2 separate regions of the Homo sapiens genome follow, and region 2 is linked to region 1. Evidence: promoter capture Hi-C in 16 types of primary human blood cells and fetal thymus (Javierre and others, 2016). All regions are on one chromosome and are shown on one strand. The core of a region is centred on a gene start or on the middle of the fragment in contact, and the rest is flanking DNA. Distances in the headings are between cores, read along the strand shown. Region 1 overlaps LOC101928864 (a long non-coding RNA gene). Region 2 holds the start of CDKL2 (cyclin dependent kinase like 2).

Region 1 (5,716 bases), core at 1,856-4,355:
TCTTTTCTTTTCTTTTTTTTTGAGACAGGGTCTTTCTCTGTCACCCAGCCTAGAGTGCAGTGGTGTGAACATGGCTCACTGCAACCTTGACCTGGACTCAAGTGATACTCCCACCTCAGCCTCCCAAGCTGAGACTACAAGTGCATGCCACCATGCTTGGCTAATTTTTAAAATTTTTGTAGAGAAAACGTCTTGCCATGTTGCCCAGGCTGGTCTAGAAGCCCTGGGCTCAGGCAATCCTCCCATCTCGGCCTCCCAAAGTGCAGGGATTACAGACATGAGCCACCATGCCCAAACTTTTCTTTTTCTTAAAAATACGGAACACTTCATAAATTTGCCTGTCATCCTTGCATGGGGGCCATGCTAATCTTCTCTGTAACATTCCAATTTTAATATATGTGGCCAGGCGTGGTGGCTCACGCCTGTAATCTCAGTACTTTGGGAGGCTGAAGCGGGCAGATCACCTGAAGTCAGGAGTTCAAGACCAGCCTGGCCAAGAGGGCAAAACCCTGTCTCTGCCAAAAATACAAAAATTAGCTGGGCGTGGTGGTGCACACCTATAATCCCAGCTACTTGGGAGGCTGAGGCAGGAGAATCCCTTGAACCCAGGAGGCAGAGGTTGCAGTGAGCCGAGATCGTGCCACTGCACTCCAGCCTGGGTGACAGAGTAAGACTCCATCTCAAAACAAACAAACAAACAACAAACAACCCCCCCCACACACAAAAAAAACAACAAAAAAACAATTTTAATATATGTGATGCTGAAGCAAGCACCAGCTGACGTTGAGATGGTGAGACTATACTGGACTATTCAGGTGGGCCCAATGTAATCACTAAGGTCCTTATAGCTGGAAGTGGGAGGCAGAAGAGTCAGAGTCAAGAGAGATCTGGAGATGCCATGATGCCGGCTTTAAAGATGGAGGAAGAGCCACAAGCCAAGGAACGCAGGTGGCCTCTAGATGGTGGAAAAGGCAAGAAAATGAATACTCTCTAGAGCCTTCAGAAGGACTGCAGCCCTGCTGACACCTTGATTTTAGCCCAGTGAGACCCATTTTGAACTTCTGACCTCCAGAACTGTAATATGATAAACATTTGTTGTTTTAAATCCCTAAATTTGTGGTAATTTCCTAGACCATCAGTGTGAAATTAATATAGATGCTATCTGACTGCCAAGGCTGGTTTGTAAAAGGAGACACAGTGTTCACCTGATTTTCTTCAGGCCCTGCCACCATGCCATGAGGAAATGGAAAGACCACGTGGAGTGGTCACATATAAATGTTCCAGCCACCAGCCTCAGCAGAGGTCCCAGCCCACAGTCAGCAACAACTCCAGACACGTGAGTGGCAGCAAGATGATGCCAGCCGCAGTTACCATCTGATTACAACTTCATAAGAAACCCTGAGCAAGGGCTGCCCAGCTGAGTTCAAGCAACGCCCCAGACCTGTGGGTGATGATAATAAAATTATTGTTGTTTTGAGTCACTAAGTTTTGGGTGATTCATTGTACAGCAGTAGATAGCCGAAGCAGTCAGTATGTAACAACTGTTTAAAATTTACACTTTGTCTTGAATTGTCTCGTTTTAAATAAGTATTCACTTTCATATCTAATTTTGTATTTGTAAATTCTTTTTTTCCTAGAGAGAGCCCCTCCAAATAGTAAAGCTTCAAATGTACTACCTTAAATCTGGTTCTACTTCTGCATGTAGCCACAATTTCTTATTCAGAATGTGGTTGAAAACATAAAAATATACGTAATTAAACAGACCTGAGGATCTTTGATATAAAGCAGTCTTTCTTTTTTTCTGAGACGGAGTCTCGCTCTGTCACCAGGCTGGAGTGCAGTGGCGTGATCTTGGCTCACTGCAACCTCCACTTCCCAGGTTCAAGTGATTCTCCTGTCTCAGCCTCCCAAGTAGCTGGGACTACAGGTGTGTGCCACCACACCCAGCTAATTTTTGTATTTTTAGTAGAGACAGGGTTTCAACAGCAGTCTTTCTTTTTAAAGTTAAAAAAAAAATTTCATTTTGAAAACACTTTAAAATGTTAACAGAAGCAAATTTTAAGCTTATACCACTTATCCATATCACTTTAAACATCAATTGCCTTTTCATTTGAGATAAAAAAAGAGATCATGACTCTCACAGACAGTAAAACTTCTTTTGGAAATAAGATGATACATTCAACAGATGTATCCTAAGTTACTCTTTGCTGACAGTGTCAACTTCATATAGCACTGTGATGTCAAGGAAAGACAGGAAATCTCTGAGTTAGGTCATGGTTCTTGAAACAAACCATGAAAGAAAAATGTGTTACATAAAGAATCATGTACAATGTACCAGAATGTAGCCTGAGCCACTTAAAATATATTTTAAGATGATTTTGAGATGATTAGTTCTGATTTCAGGCATTGCCGAATTCTCAGTTCACTCTCCTTTGCCAGGCTTTTCACATTATGTCAAAGCTACTTCATTTATTTCAGTTGATTATTCGTGTAAAAGAGAGAGCACTGGATAACAAAGTACTGAGTCGGGCTTCAGAGTCAACCGAGCATTTAGTTCTCAAGTTCTCAGGTTGCAGAGATAGTTCCTACAAGGCTACTCTCTTGCAGGCTAGTAGAACTGGGAGGGACTAAAGTGGCTGGCTGGAAAAACTGGTCCTCTTGCTGTAGTCATTCAGATGGTGTCTACAGTGTGGATAATTTCCACAATTCCAAAGCCAACCCTACGTAGATAAACACTATGAATGTTTATGAATATGGCCAACCCTTGCATAAACACTCTTCCAAAAAAACAGGGCATGCTTCTAGCATTAACAACAAAAGCAACAAAATATATAGTAAATGGATTGTAAAATGTTGATTTCAAATTTGAGATGGTCTTGTTTGTGGGAAAATCAGAAAGGAGAATATATGAGATGTTTCACTGACTTATTCTGCTGATTGCTTGAAGACAGAGATTAATCATCTGCTATATAAATCATCTCATTCTTCCAGGTTCTGATTTAAAAATGAGCTCTTGGTTGAAAAATCTGCATTACTTCAAGATAGCACCCTATGCTACTATGCTATACCTTCCCTGTTTCTCTTCCTCAGAGAGGCATTCCTGTCTCCATTGCAGGTTCTGTGAAGCAAGACTTATCTAAGCAGGAAGTTTGGGGCTGCAAACCACTTTTTTTTTTTTTTTTGAGACAGGGTTTTGCTCTGTTGCCCAGGCCAGAGTGCAGTGACATGATCATGGCTCACTGTAGCATAGACCTCCCAGGCTCAAGCAATCTTCTTGTCTCAGGCTCACATGTAGCTGGGACTACGGGTGCATGCCACCACGCCCAGATAATTTTTAAAATTTTTTGTAGAGATGAAGTCTCGCTATGTTGCCCAGGCTGGTCTTGAACTCCTGGGCTCAAGTGATCCTCCCACCTCAGCCTCCCAAAGTGCCGGGATTCCAGGTATGAACCACTGTGCTCAGCCTAATGACAGAAAACAGCCCAGGCAGGGACCCAGCAATAGTGAGTAGACGGGGAGGGGGAGTATGGCCTCATGTCAGCTTTACGTATCCTTATCCTCAGGTTCTTTCCTTTCAGGGCTGCTTTCCACCAGACTTCTTTGATGAGGTTAGGGATGATCCCTTCCTTTCCCTTCATGAAGTCACAACATGGTGCAGCCTAGAAATATATAGCTAGTTGCTTTCACAAATGTTTGTATTCAGTCATCACATATGAAGCAGACACAACTACCTCTGGCTTTTTGTTTTCCTCAGTTTAGAAAGCTGAGGCTCAAGACCATGGGAATTATTCAGGGTATTCAAGGCACCATTTCTAATGAGTAGGAAAGCTGAGACACAAAGCCAGTTTGATCCATGGCCAGTGCTTTTGCCCTACACCTCAGACATACCAGGGTATATGCTGGGGCCTTGTTTTATTTATGTATTTTTGTATTCCTGGTGCCTAGTAGCATGCCTGGCACTCAGTGTGTATTCACTAAATTTCGATTGAATAAAAAGCTAGGATTTATTGTCAAAAACCATATCTTTGAGGAGAAAGATGATATTTGGAAAATTGTAGCAATTTTGATGCCTTATGAAGTTCAGGGAAGTCTAAGTCATTTAGGGAAGCACTGCAACTGTCCCATGAGAGTGCCCTATTTTCAAGGTAGAAGCTTAAGTGTGAGCAGGTTTGCAGCACACTTGTCAGGAGTCAGGGATTCACTGAATGTAGTCAGTGTTTCTGTGTGGGCACTCCCTGCTTATTACCCATTCTGTGAGCACCTTTTAGTTTCAGTCTCACATGTCACTGAGGACAATGGGCTGCACATCAGGCTTTCATGGGGTTATTGGTGACAGTATCACCCAACCCCACTGCACCCCTACCACATGCTGTAGAAAACCAAGTATCTTAAATTGTCTGGAAGTTCTTGGGGGCTGCCAAGTTTCTGATTTCCTTATTTTGTATGTGTGCATGATACAGGAAATTTGCCTTCCAGAAAGCTCAGGAAAGGCTAATGGGTAAAGCCTGATTAGCCTAAGGGGAATAATGTCTTTTTCATAAATAACACTTTCAGCTCCGGCAAGGTAAGCCAATGTGATAAGGACAAATAGAATGAGGAGAATTTTTTTTTAAAAGATATATTAACAAACAAAAAATTCTGCAAAGTAAACAGAGAAAACCTACATAATCCCCCAGCCCATTTCCTAAGAATATCATCATTCTTAAAATGAGGTGTTTAAAAAAGAGGATGCTGTATTAATAATTACTGGATCTGTATTTTTAATGATTGCTTTCCTTTAATCTTAAAGAGATAAGTGGACTAACGTGGATAAAGGGCTCCATCTTGGACAACTTGATCAGTCTTTTCTTCTGTGCTGAGCAGGGCCTGCCAAGAGCAGGAAATTCAACGCCATTTACAAAGCTTTCTTGTCTTACTCTCAGAGAAAGCCATCACTGTTCACATCATTCAAGAGGCTGTCTGTAAAAGGACACATAAAATACCAGTTATGAAATATAGAGTACACATTTAGTATAGCTTCATATCATTTAGTGCTAAGCAGCAAGATGATTATGTCAAATAAAAGTTATCACTTATTTATGTTTAAAAGATCAGATAAGCATTGGATAAAATTATGTAGCCTAAGCAAAGGACAATTTCTAAATCTTTTCCTTTTTGTTTTATATAGTCTGTTATTTTTAAAGTCTTCTACCACATAAATTTGCATTTCCTCTTTCACATCACTTATAAAATAACGTATGTTCCTTTTTTACCTTTGCCTTCTTACTTGAAAAAAACATCCCCAGTCTCCTTCATGCTTTGATCACAAACTCTTCATTTCTCTGATGGTGGATAGTTGGTCGAGCTGCTTTCTGTCTGTGGGCCCTGTCCACTCAGCCTATTGATGCTCTGTACAATGAGCTGTCATCTCTGTAATTTTAATCTTAGCTCTAGTCTCTAAGTTAGTTTCATGCTCCTATTATGTTTATCAGCATAGATTTCCAGCAAGATGATTATGTCAAATAAAAGTTATCACTTAATGTTTAAAAGATAAAACAAGCATTGGATAAAATTATGTAGCCTGTAAATCATTTAAAACTGGTGTGCTAATTTTATCTTATTTTCCAAAACCCTCACCAAGCTCACACCTCTCTGAAATAAGTGTTAGCTTTTTGGGCTGCCTTCCCCCAGTTGCTCTGTGCTCCAAACAGATGCCTGTGTTTAGTCCGAGCTAATA
Region 2 (5,716 bases), core at 2,404-4,903, 1.5 Mb before region 1:
AAGAATCTGTCTCAAAAACAAAACAAAACAAATAAACAAAATGCACAGGCCAGGTGCAGTGGCTCACACCTGTAATCCCAGCACTTTAGAAGGCGGAGGCGGGCAGATCACCTGAGGTCAGGAGTTTGAGACCAGCCTGGCCAACATGGTGAAACCCTGTCTCTACTAAAATACAAAAATTAGCCAGGCATGGTGGTGCACCCCTATAGTCCCAGCTACTCGGGAGGCTAAGGCAGGAGAATCCCTTGAACCCAGGAGGCGGAGGTTGCAGTGAGCCAAGATAGCACTATTGCACTCCAGCCTGGGTGACAGAGTGAGACTCTGTCTCAAAAAAAAAAAAGCACAATTCCTTTTCACTCAAAGATGTATAACTGAATTTGGTGGGGGATTTTGTTTGTTTGTTTGTTTGTTTGTTTGGGACGGAGTCTTGCTCTGTTGCCCAGGCTGGAGTGCAGTGGTGAGATTTAGGCTCACGGCAACCTCCACCTCCTGGGTTCAAGCAATTCTCCTGCCTCCGCCTCTGAGTAGCTGGGATTATAGGCGTGAGCCACCACACCCGGGTAAGTTTTGTATTTTCATAGAGATGGGGTTTTGCCATGTTGCCCAGGCTGATCTCAAACTCCTGACCTCAAGTGATCCACCCACCTTGGCCTCCCAAAGTGCTGGGATTGCAGGCGTGAGCCAGAGCGCCCGGCCTGAATTTAGTTTTAATAAAGATCAACTTTTTTGTTACACTGGATTTAGATCAATGTTGGAAATACTTATGCACCTTCCACTTAATTGGAAAAAATATTTGATCACATAACAAATTAACACAGAGCATCTTTCATAAAATATTTTTCTTTACTTTTTTTTTCTTTTTTTTTTTTTTTTTTTTGAAACGGAGTCTCGTGCACTGGCGCGATCTCGGCTCACTGCAACCTCTGCCTCCCAGGTTCAAGCGATTCCCTGTTTCTGCCTCCCCAGTAGCTAGGGTTACAGGCACCGCTACCACGCCCAGCTAATTTTTGTACTTTTAGTAGAGACGGGGTTTCGCCATGTTACTGTTACTATATTGAACTTAGAAAATAAGAGTAATGACATCGGTATATAAGCAGATTTTTAAAATTAAATTAAATTTTATTAAATTTAATGTAATTATTAAATTAAATTAAATATTAGTAGTACCAAGTACAGTAAAAGTATTTCAAAAACCCTGTTAATGATTACTCACTATAAGTATAATTTGAATTTGTGTTTGAAATTTTTTTTTTTTTTTTGAGACGGAGTCTTGCTCTGTCGCCCAGGCTGGAGTGCAGTGGCGCGATCTTGGCTCACTGCAAACTCCGCCTCCCGGGTCCACGCCATTCTCCTGCCTCAACCTCTCGAGTAGCTGGGACTACAGGCGCCTGCCACCACGCCCAGCTAACTTTTTGTATTTTTAGTAGAGACGGGGTTTCACCGTGTTAGCCAGGATTGTATCGATCTCCTGACCTCGTGATCTGCCCGCCTCGGCCTCCGAAAGTTCTGGGATTACAGGCGTGAGCCACCGCGCCCGGCCTTGAAATTTTTTACTCATATTATATGACATTTTCTGAATAAAGGCAATCCTAAGAGAATCTTTCTTGTTTTACCAATGATTGACGAAGGTCCAGCAATCATTGGACAAAATGCTTTCGTACAGAAAAAAATTATTTCAGTCCAAATACAGATAGATTTTAACTATCTATTATTTCAGTAATAATAGATAAAAAATTATTTCAGTCCAAATACAGATAGATTTTAACAAGAAATAATTCTTGCCTGTTGTATTAATTGTATACTTACGGCAATCTAAAATTTACTCAGATCGTGAACTGTTTTTCCTATTTCTCTATTGGAACAGTGATGCAAAGACAAAACAAATATTCTCTTTGTTCTAGCAAACTATGCTAATCCAATGTATACAATACGTTTTCCACACTTGACATATAATAGTTTGAGATTTTATAATATATATATTTTTAATGTAGCTATATGTGGAGAACCAGAAGATTGATCTTGAGGGGTGGGAAATGAAAACAATACCAATGAACATCGACTTAAATTATTATTTTACTACCAGTTTTCATAGTAGATTCTACTACAAACTTTTTACAGAGCAGTGTCCCAGACACTAACTTTCCATGCATTTGACATTTTACCTTCTATTCCACTTCCATTAACTATTTTTTAATAAACTGTTTGTATTTGAAAAAAAAAATCTCCATATAATTCTATCCCTTCTTAATTTTTTTCTCTTCCATTAAGAGAGTATGTTTTATTAAGCACTAGGCTTTAGGTTTATCATACCAATGACAAAAATAGCTTGAATCTATAACCTGGATTATTTTAAAACATTTTGTAATTGATGTCCTCAATATTTGAAAGCACAAAGTGAACCAAAAAAAATGACTTTAAGCATGTCTGAGGTGTTCTGAAGCATATCCCAAGCTAACATTAATGCAAGTTGACTGCTTCAAGTTTATTCTCCCAACCAATTGCATATCTGGACACACCACATTGAACACACCTGCTTTTTCAAGTGACACTGTCCACAAATACTTTAAAAGTATCACAGCCTACAAAGCCTCCTGTTTCCTGAAACAGTTACTCATAAACTATAACTTCTCATGCCTTCTACTCTTGAACGGAAAGGTAATACAAACGAAAAAGAAACCTGGCCAATGGGCAAGGTGTTATTTCTGGATGGTTCTAAAAGCAACAATTTTGATAAAAATATTTGGAGAATGCTAATTTTTTATTTTGTTTAAGACAGATTAAAGGGCCGGGAGCGGTGGCTCACGCCTGTAATCCCAACACTTTGGGAGGCCGAGGCGGGCGGATCACCTGAGGTTGCGAGTTCGAGACCAGCCTAACCAACATGGAGAAACCCTGTCTCTACTAAAAATACAAACTTAGCCGGGCGTGGTGGTGATGCCTGTAATCCCAGCTACTTGGGAGGCTGAGGCAGGATAATCGCTTGAACCCAGGAGGCAGAGGTTGCGGTGAGCCGAGACCATGCCATTGCACTCCAGCCTGGGCAACAAGAGTGAAACTCCGTCTCAAAAAAAAAAAAAAAAAAAAAAAAAAAAAAAAAAAAAAAAGATTGAAATCTTTTATAGATCAAAGAACGAGATAATAGAAGCTTTAAAACGTACTATACTTACCGTTTCTTCAATCCGTTCGCATAGAAAGACCCAAAGGTTTTCAACTTGGAAACAAATTTGAGGTGAAATGCATATGGTTCGCAGGTCCAAAAGATGCTGCCTAGCAAACTAGCAATTCCAGCGCTGTTGTGATTTCTTCTGCGGACGCAGTCACGAGTCCAGGGCGAAGCAGGCAGGGAGGCAGGTGGGCCTCGGTCCGCCGCAAGCTCACACTTAGGAGGACCACGGGCCGCATGCTGTCGTCGTCAAGGCAACGACCTCACTCTGTCCCCAACCATAGGCACAAAGTCTTGGGAGACAGATACGGCCCAGGTCAGAATGCGTTCACGGCAGGCACCAACACCTGTGAAGGCCAAGGGCTAGAGAGCAATTAGCTGGGTGAGAGGCACCACCTCCCAGCTCGTAAGGCGCCCAGTACCTGGAGCCTGGGAACCTGCACCGCTCCAACTACCCCTGGGCGAAGGCGTTGGCCGCGGAGCTGCAAGGGGGGGCGGTTTCTCACCCGCCCCGAGAGCGCCAGGCCTCCCTTCTTCTGATTGGCCGAGCCGAGTCGTCACGAGCCATGATTGGCTCAGGGCCAACCACCCCGCCCCTTCACCTAGGGCTCGGCCCAGGTTCTGCTCCCTGACACGCAGAGGCCCTGCGTCCCCACACGCCTTGGTTCTCGTCAGGAGGCGCCTTTCTGCCTTCCCCAGCGGGAGGAGGCGATTGTGATGCCCACGCGAAGGGTAAAGGTGGCGGTTATGTAGGACTGCGAAGACTATGCAAAATGCGATACGGTTTCCCTCATAGCATCGCCGCTGGGGCAGGGGCGGGCGCCGGGCGCCCTGAGTCGCGTAGGCGCGGCCTGACCGGGATTCCATGCTTCCTTTCTGTTCTGGGCGGTGGGGCCAGTGTGAGCCAGGTAGGAGATAACGGTGACAGTTTAGGAGGTGATGATTAGTAGGCGAGGCAAGGTGGAAGAAGGTAGGTGATGACAGACCTGACGTTAGGAGGGACCTTGGGAAGGCCAGTCTGGCCATTGAAAGTGAGGGAAAACACTGAGATGGAGGAAGGGGAAGAGAGGGCATGAGTGGAATGGGAAAGCGCTGGGATGGCTGGGGATCTGGAGGACACGCACAACACCCGCGTATGGCAGCCAAATGGGGTGGAGTTAGGGCTTGCGATAAAACTTGCCTTAAATGCAAAAATGCAGCTCAATCCACGACTGAGCAAGACTGGTAGGTCAGAATCATGCACAGGCTTAAATCACACAGGAACAGAGCTTACCCCATTTTCAAAGAATCTGAGGCAGCGAGGAGGCCATAAGGCCAGTAAAATAACACTTTCAATCATGATAACTAAATGTTCATGATCATTTTGGTCTCGAAACTACTTTGATTTAGGGAATAGAGTGTCCTGGATAGACAAATGTCTACCATATACCCTAGTCAATATTAAGGTATTAATCATTAATGTTAAGGTATTGATTCCTTCTTGTACATTAAGAAATAGACATTCTTTTTATAGTCTTTTGTGAGTTTGGTTAGTTTGCATTAATCTCCCAGTGGTTAATTACCTTGGTCAGACTGCTTAAAATCTAGTTCCTGAACCTGTAATATTGAGAACCAGACCTGAGGCCTAGTTATGGAAAGAATAGAATTATTTGGTCAATTCAAGATGTGACTCTTAGTGTAGCAATTAGCTCTGTCCTTAGCTGTGTCCAAGTTGCGAGAAGCCCTGTCCCATTTGGTACCTCTATAGGCTATAAGAGAATCTGATGAACTTCTTTTATATGGGGGTAGATTCAGTTTTGTTGGGCCTGAAGCTTAAGAACAAGAGCGCAAAACTATTTTACTTTTGCAACTTTATAATCATATTCAACCGTATAACATTTTAAGGCCCCTTCATGCAAGAGGCCTAGAAGCTTCAATAATCTATTTATATCTCACAGGGAACCAAAGGATAAAGACTGAAAATACTGGATTTGGCGAACAAGTGATGCTTTAGGAAACAATTTCAGCCAGATGCGGTGGCTCATGCCTGTAATCCTAGCACTTTGGGAGGCCAAGGCGGGCAGATCACCTGAGGTCAGGAGTTTGATACCAGCCAGGCCAACATGGTGAAACCCTGTCTCTACTAACAATACAAAAATTAGCTGGGCATGGTTGTGAACGCCTGTACTCCCAGCTACTTGGGAGACTGAAAAAAAGAAAACAAACAAACCAAAAAAAAACAATTTCAGTAAGAACTGAGTTTGAAAGCCAGTTGTAGAGGACAGAGGTTATTAAAGACTTACACATTCTGGCCATCTACAGGATTGTTAATAGAGAAGGTATTATGTAGAAACAGGATTGTGTTACTATTTTTTCTTTCTTTTCTTCTGAGGCGGAGTCTCACTCTGTTGCCCAGGCTGGAGTGCAGCAGCACGATCTTGGCTCACTGCAACCTCTGCTTCCTGGGTTCAAGCGATTCTCCTGTCTCAGCCTCCCAGGTAGCTGGGATTACAGGACCCCACCACCACGCCTGGCTAATTTTTTTCTTTTTTTAGTAGAGGCAGGTTTTCGCCA

What was found. The method cuts DNA at HindIII sites, captures the fragments that hold promoters and counts their contacts. A CHiCAGO score of 5 or more calls a contact.
Region 2: the fragment with the promoter of CDKL2 here is called in contact with a fragment that was not itself captured in region 1 in 3 of 17 cell types (fetal thymus, naive CD4 T cells and total CD4 T cells); the score reaches 7.9 in fetal thymus.

Annotation. Positions count from the first base shown.
Region 1 is chr4:77,150,018-77,155,733 of GRCh38, forward strand. It overlaps LOC101928864 (a long non-coding RNA gene), which reads right to left. Exons shown (of 2, transcript XR_244659.5): 1 at 5,253-5,716; 2 at 4,737-4,959. It also overlaps the pseudogene RNU6-1187P. Among named protein-coding and RNA genes, the nearest start is that of CCNG2, 4.3 kb to the right of the region's middle. RefSeq lists an enhancer at 2,577-2,626 and a silencer at 4,337-4,406. The HindIII fragment of the contact is 2,089 bases long and covers 2,062-4,150 here.
Region 2 is chr4:75,626,875-75,632,590 of GRCh38, forward strand. CDKL2 (cyclin dependent kinase like 2) reads right to left here and starts at 3,654. Exons shown (of 14, transcript NM_001330724.2): 1 at 3,168-3,654. The HindIII fragment of the contact is 1,829 bases long and covers 3,144-4,972 here.